Linked DNA regions of Homo sapiens: region 1 is linked to region 2. The links are contacts of gene promoters, found by promoter capture Hi-C in blood cells and fetal thymus (Javierre and others, 2016). All regions are on one chromosome and are shown on one strand. The core of a region is centred on a gene start or on the middle of the fragment in contact, and the rest is flanking DNA. Distances in the headings are between cores, read along the strand shown.

Region 1 (3,546 bases), core at 178-2,677, 240 kb after region 2:
AGCTCTGGACACCCACTTGAGCCCAGATTCCTGGAAGAGCAGAGGGCTGGGCTCCCAGACTCCTGGGTGCTGTGGGAGGAGGGGGCTGGTATCCCAAACTCTGGTTTCCCCAGGAGAGAGTGGTCTGGTGGGCTTCAGATGAGTCCTATGGGAGCTGGGGATCTGGATTCCTGGTTCCCTGAAGGAGGAGAGGGATGATAGCTTGGATTCCCTAGGTCTTTCCAGGATGCAGAAAGAAACAGGCTGGGGCCTGGATTCTGAGGCAGGAAGGAATTTGGGTCTGGAGTTCTGGCTACTTGAGGACCAAAGGCAGGAAGGATCCTGCCTTGATTTTACTTCAGAAACCAAATCAGTCTTCTATAATCTGGGGTCGGAGGGAGTCCCTGTGCCCAAGGTCTCTCTGCACCCCACCATCCACATGTATTTTTCCTTCTATCCCATAATTTATTAAATCACTGTTCTCCCCAGAGACAGTTGTCCCATGGATTTCTGGGTCTGGAAATAATATTGGATTGGGAGTAGGGATGGGTTCCTGGTATCTAGGGATCGAGGCGAACGTCCAGGAGGGGACTAGAGGGACCCACACATTTGCACATGAAAAAATGTAGGTTTGGGTGGTTGAGTCTCTCAGAGAAGGCAGTGTCCAGACGTCTGTGTCCAGGGTCTGGGCAGTATGGACAGGGCTCGCTGGAGCTAGGTGCTTGGGGACTTGCCTTCTGAGCTTTTCTTTTACTCTTCTCTGTTGTTGTTGTTGTTGTTTTGTTCTGTTTTTGTTTTTGTTTTTGAGACATGGTCTTGCTCTGTTGCCCAGACTGGAGTGCAGTGGCTCACTGCAGCCTTGACCTCCTGGGCCCAGGTGATCTTCCCACCTCAGCCTCTAGAGTAGCTGCCATCACAAGTGCGCACCACCACGCTGGCTCATTTTTGTAGAGACGGGATTTTGCTATGTTGCCCAGGCTGGTCTCCAGCTCCTGGGCTCAAGCATTCCTCCTGCTTCGGCCTCCCAAAGTGCTGAGGTTACAGGTATGAGCCACCGCACTGGCCGCCTCCTGGGACTGGTGTTAGGGGAACTTAGAGGGCGATGTCTGGGGGCTGATAGCTGGGGACTTTGATGCTGAACCCTGCAGAGTCTGGGTCTCCAATGGGGGTCTGGGGTCTCCTAGGTCCTAGGACTGAGTATCCTGGCATGCCGTTCTTTGGGCTATACAGGGTGTGTGTCGTGTGTGTTGGGGCGGGAGGAGTGGAGTGGTCTGGACGGCCAACGACTGGACCAGAAGGCAGAAAATGCTAAAGCACCAGGATAAACATCTGTGGGCGTCATCGAGGTTCCCGGGTGGAGGCGGGAGGAGGGGCGGGGCAGGGCTTTCCGCCTACCCGAGACCAAATACGGGCACACACAATACACACCACACACGCGCGCACACGCACACGGGCACACACGCGCGCACGGGATCCTGCTCCGCTCCGCGGCTCCCCCGCCCCGGAGAGCTCCGCGATCAGCACCCGGGACAGCGCCACCGCCCACGTGCAGGGGGTGGGGTCCGGGCGGGGCTGGCGCCTCGGCGTCTCCCGGGAGTGTCCCGTCCAGCCGCCGAGCAGGTAGGAGCTGCTGGGACCCCCGCCCTCAGCCCATCCGCATCCGCATCCCTAGAGGAAAGGGGTGTGCGAGTGGGGGCTGGGGCACTGGGGAGACAACCAGAGGGAGGGCAGCAGCCTGAAGCGGAGAGACAGGGATCTGGGGACGCGAGACAGGTATGGAGAAGACAAAGAGCCGAGGGCGGGGAGTGGGGCGCAGGCGGAGGGGAGAGGGAGAGACCCTGGAGACAGAGGCCAGGCGATAGGGAAGAGAGACAGGCGGGTTGGGGAGGCAGACACAGGGAAGACGCCTATGTGGGGTCAAGAGGCAGCGTGGAGACCGAGGCGGTCACGAGAGCAGCACGGATGCGTGGAGAGACCAACAGGCCAAGAAGGATGAGGGGGCTCAGCACAGGCACCGGGCAGCCCCCGACCCGCCCTCCAGCAAAATTGGGGAGAGGGAAGAGGGAACCTGCGTCTCAGCTCCCAGGACCAGGTGCGGAGGGAGCAGTCGGCTGTGGGCGCTCGGACCACAGGCTGCCCGCTCCCCACCTCGCGGGACCTCAGGATCCCAGTCGGGCTATTGGGGGGTTCCCAGGCACCGGTGGGCCCCGGAGCGAGCCTGCCCCGCCGGGACTCCGCGTCTGTGCGTCAGCCCCGCCCGTTGTCCTGGCAACAACCCGTTGCCCGGGCAACCAGCTTTGCTCTCACCCCGCTTGAGAGGAGCCCGGCTGTTGCTCTGGGCAACGCGGTCTGCTGGTTCCCACGTCTGCCTTCGCCCGCTTCCGGTTCAGACCCTGCGGAGGGGCGAGGACGAGGCAGAAGTCAGCGGGATGCCTGTGGGGCCGTGGAGGAAGAGGGTATCCCTTTAGGATGGAACTAGGTCCTGGACACCCCCTCTCAAGTGCGGGGAGGCTGATACTACAACTCCCAGCATGACTCGCGGTGGCTGTCCGGTTTCTGCGCGGCTGTTCGCGCAAAGGCCTCATGGGAGTTGGAGTTCTTTGTTGTGCGTGGGGCTCAAAGGACGTCTGGGGTGGGAATGGGGGACTAGGGTGCTTGAGTGTCTCTGCAGAAAAGACTCCAGGACCCCGCCACCATGTTCCCGGAGCCCCCAACCCCGGGGCCTCCATCGCCCGACACGCCTCCCGACTCCAGTCGCATCAGCCACGGCCCAGGTGAGCAAGACCCGGGGGTGGGGGGCCGAGCAGAGAGAAAGCCTGGCCAGGATTCCGAGGGGCGGGATTCGGACGGGTGTACTCGGGCAGGCGGGCTGGAAAATCCGGCTGGGATCCCGGGTCGTCATCCTGGACTGGAATGCGAACGAAATGGGGTAAAAGGAAGGAACAGATTTGCAAAAAAAAAAAAAAAAAAAAAAAAAAAAAAATCGAAACCGGATCAAGGGGTGTTGCATGGAATGGGATCTTAGAATTGGAAGGTCCACCTAGCTCTTCTTTTACAGATAAGGAAACAGGCCCGATGAGGAGCAGGGCTTCTTGTAAAAGCATCAGGAGTTGAGCAGAAATGGGGGGCGGGGTCGGGTAAGGAAAGGCAGAACTAACAAGCAAGCAAATCCAGATGGTGTCAGCCTGGGTTGGGGCATCGAATCTCTCTATAGGCCACATTAGGTGGAAGAAAAACACAGGAAGAAATGCAATGAAAATGGCTGGAGGGAAAAGGAGGCCAGCATTCCAGCTTCCACGTGTAATCAGGACTGAATCAGCCTGCGTGCTGCCCAGGCCTCAATGTGTGTTGTCTCCACCCCTCTGCAGTGCCCCCCTGGGCCCTGGCCACCATCGTGCTGGTCTCAGGCCTCCTCATCTTCAGCTGCTGTTTCTGTCTCTACCGGAAGAGCTGTCGGAGGCGGACAGGCAAGAAGAGCCAGGCCCAAGCCCAGGTCCACCTTCAGGAAGTGAAGGGGCTGGGCCAGAGTTACATAGACAAGGTGTGGCCCAGCCCAGCCCCTCCACC
Region 2 (3,723 bases), core at 771-3,270:
TGTGTAAAAGGAGCGGGGAACAGAATCTGTATATAAATTTGCTGCACCAAATATTTCCAATTCTCCTCCTGGGCACATGGTAGGATTCTATTTCCCTGCCCCCGAAGTTAGCTGTGCCCGTGCGACTTGCCTTGGCCTATGAAGTGCGGGCAGAAGTATCTTTCCAGGCAGAAGCTTGTGAGAGACAGGGTGTGGTTCTCCCATGCTCTGTCTTTTCCCTCCTCCATGGGCACTGGCATATTTCAGGTCATAGCTGCTCTGCTGGCCTGAGTCCCAGGCAGATCAGCCAGGGCCCCAGAGTAAGGATGATGCCAAATAGGGGCTCCACCAGCCGCAGATGCACATGTAGCACGAATGAGAAATAAACTCTTGTTGCTTTAACAACCAGGGCTTTGGGGCTACTTGTTACTGCAGCCTAGCATAGCCCATTCTGGCTGACAGGGTTGCTTATGGAGAGGGGAACTGGATGGCTGGGGCTTTTTACTTCTAAATGCCCTTTTGCACTTCTGGATTTTTGTATCGGCAAGTGTACTCTCTACTGTTTTGTTTTGTTTTTTAGACAGGGTGTTGCTCTATTGCAGAGGCTGGAGTGCAGTGGTGCAATCTCAGCTCACTGCAGCCTTGATTCCCCAAGTGATCCTCAGCCTCCTGACTAGCTGGGATTACAGGTGCCCACCACCAGGCCCCCAGCTAATTTTTGTATTTTTACTAGAGACGGGGTTTCGCCACATTGGCCAGGCTGGTCTCGAACTCCTGACCTCAGATAATCTGCCCACCTCGGCCTCCCAAAGTGCTGGGATTACAGGCATGAGCCACCATGCCTGGCCCTACTTTTTTTTTTTAATAGAATTTTTAAATTCTGCAGCAGGAGAATCGCTTGAACTCAGGAGGAGGAGGTTGCAGTGAGCCAAGATCGCTGAGATCGCCAAGATCGTGCCACTGCACTCCAGCCTGGCTGGCAGAGTGAGACTCTGCCTAATAAATAAATAAATTAATTAATTAATTAATTAACAGAAAAGAAAGAAAAAAGAATTTAAAAAAATATAAATGTAGAGATGGGAATCTGGCTATGCTGACCAGGCTAGTCTTGAACTCCTGACCTCGAGCGATCCTCCCACCTCAGCCTCCCACAGCGTAGATTTAAATGCAAATGGTGCAGACTTTGCCTGCCATTCCCCTCACTAAGCATATGCCAAGACACGTGAGAGAGATGGGCGACTGGAGTCTCATTCCTCTCCCTCAGAGGGTGATTAGCTTCCCACTCTGAATCGGAACTCCAGTGCTTCAGTGTATGTATTTTCATTCCTCATGGATGCCACATGCCAGCCAACGGATTCATTTGTGTTCAACAAGAGAAGAGCAATCTGCTCCACACCCACTGTGTGCAGGGCGGGCAAGTCAAGGATAAGATCTGACATGAGCATTCTGCCTTCAGTGTTCGCCTTTGTCACCTAACACTCGCTCAACTGGCAACCCGACTGTGCCAATAAATGCAGCCTCTCAGCAGCTATTCTTAACCCGCATTTGAAGGGTGGGCTTGTGAATGTCTCAAATCTATGCCAGATGTTGTGTGCATGCTTTTTCATTTCACTTTTCTTGACTTTATATTTTGAAATAATTTCAAATGTACAGAACAGTTACAAGAATAAGTCAAAGAACTTCTGTGTCATTTTCACCAACTCACCATTTGTTACCATTATATGACATCATTGTATGGTTTTCTTTCCATATAAATATTCATCTCGGCTGGGCACGGTGGCTCATACCTGTAATCCCAACACTTTGAGAGGCCGAGATGGGTGGATTGCTTAAGCTCAGGAGTTTGACATCAGCCTGGGCAACATGGTGAAACCTCATCTCTACCAAAACAACAACAACAACAACAAAACAACAACAACAACAACAAAATATATATATATATATATGCACACAAAAAATTAGCTGGGCATGCTGGCATGCACCTGTAGTTCCAGCTACTCAGGAGGCTGAGGCGGGAGGATCGCTTGAGCCCAGGAGGTAGAGGTTGCAGTCAGCCAAGATCACACCACTGCACTCCAGCCTGGGCCACAAAGCCAGAACCTGTCTCATAAAAAAAAAAAAAAAAAAAATGCCGGACATGGTGGCTCATGTCTGTAATCCCAGCACTTTGGGAGGCTGAGGCAGGTGGATCACCTAAGGTCAGGAGTTTGAGACCAGCCTGGCCAACATAATGAAACCCCGTCTCCACTAAAAATACAAAAAATTAGCTGGGCGTGGTGGCAGGCGCCTGTAATCCCAGCTACTCGGTAGGCTGAGGCAGGAGACTTGCTTGAACCCAGGAGGCAGAGGTTGCAGTGAGCCAAGATCGTGCCATTGCACCACAGCCTGGGCAACAAGAGCAAAACTCCATCAAAAAAAAGAAAGAAAAAAAAAAGCCAGGTGCAGTGGCTCACCCCTGTAATCCCAGCATTTTGGGAGGCCGAGGCGGGCAGATCACGAGGTCAGGAGATCAAGACCATCCCGGTTAACATGGTGAAACCCCGTCTCTACTAAAAATACAAAAATTAGCCAGGCGTGGTGGTGGGTGCCTGTAATCCCAGCTACTCAGGAGGCTGAGGCGGGAGAATCGCTTGAACCTGGGAGGCGGAAGTTGCAGTGAGCCGAGATCGTGCCATTGCACTCCAGCCTGGGTTACAGAGCGAGACACCTTCTAAAAAAAAGAAAAAAATCGTGTTTTTTTTTTTTGGAGATATTTGGGAGTAAGTTGCACCTATCACATCCCTTTACCCCTAGAGGCCATTCTGAAGAACAAGGCCACTCTCTTACACATCCACAGCATAATTATCACACTCAAGAATTTAGCATTGACCAAGTCCATGTTTGAATTGCATCAAGCGTCCTGCTACTGTCTTTCAGAGCAGCTTTCAGTTTGTGACACTCCAGGATTGGGTGTTGCATGCAGCTATTGTGCTTCTTGAGGTGGCTTCTTTTTTTTTTTTTTTTTTTTGAGACAGAGTCTCGCTCTGTTGCCCAGGCTGGAGTGCAGTGGTGCGATCTCAGCTCACTGCAAGCTCCGCCTCCTGGGTTCACGCCATTCTCCTGCCTCAGCCTTCCAAGTAGCTGGGACTACACGTGCCCGCCACCAAGCCTGGCTGATTTTTTTCTATTTTCAGTAGAGACGGGGTTTCCCCATGTTAGCCAGGATGGTCTCGATCTCCTGACCTTGTGATCCGCCCGCCTCGGCCTCCCAAAGTGCTGGGATTACAGGCATGAGCCACTGCGCCCGGCTGAGGTGGCTTCACTCTGAAACAGTTACTCAGTCTTTGTCTTTCTTTTCTATTTTTATTTTTTATTATTGCACACAATTCACGCAGAGATTAAGGAGATGTTTTTTTTAAGAGAAGGGGTCTCACTATGTTGCCCAGGCTAGAACTCCTGGGCTCAAGTGATCCTCCTGCCTCAGCCTCCCAAAGTGCTGGGATTACAGGTGGCAGCCACCACGCCCAGCCCAGTCTTTGCCTTTTTTAATGCTGATTTTTTAAAGAATCCAGGTAGGCCATTTTATAGAATATGCCTTGCATTTAGGCGCATCTGATGTTTCCTCATGATTAGATCTGGGTTACATGTGTGAGACAGGAAAACCACAGAAGGGATGCCAGAGTCTCAGCGCTTTGGCTGAAGGAAGCCCATGCTCTCATGCTTCCTGAAGTTCATGTGCTCAGAGCTCATATGCTCTGAGTGCAC

Evidence for each region. The method cuts DNA at HindIII sites, captures the fragments that hold promoters and counts their contacts. A CHiCAGO score of 5 or more calls a contact.
Region 1: the fragment with the promoter of SYT5 here is called in contact with a fragment that was not itself captured in region 2 in 8 of 17 cell types (erythroblasts, M2 macrophages, M0 macrophages and 5 more); the score reaches 7.8 in erythroblasts.

The regions. Positions count from the first base shown.
Region 1 is chr19:55,178,170-55,181,715 of GRCh38, reverse strand. SYT5 (synaptotagmin 5) reads left to right here and starts at 1,427. Exons shown (of 9, transcript NM_003180.3): 1 at 1,427-1,599; 2 at 2,630-2,753; 3 at 3,348-3,520. The coding sequence starts at 2,675. PTPRH (protein tyrosine phosphatase receptor type H) reads left to right here. Exons shown (of 20, transcript NM_002842.5): 20 at 1-469. RefSeq lists silencers at 1,412-1,601, 1,482-1,894 and an enhancer at 1,882-1,961. The HindIII fragment of the contact is 13,685 bases long and covers 1-3,546 here.
Region 2 is chr19:55,421,406-55,425,128 of GRCh38, reverse strand. All of the region lies in intron 2 of LOC105372462 (a long non-coding RNA gene), which reads right to left. Among named protein-coding and RNA genes, the nearest start is that of UBE2S, 15 kb to the right of the region's middle. The HindIII fragment of the contact is 3,688 bases long and covers 177-3,723 here.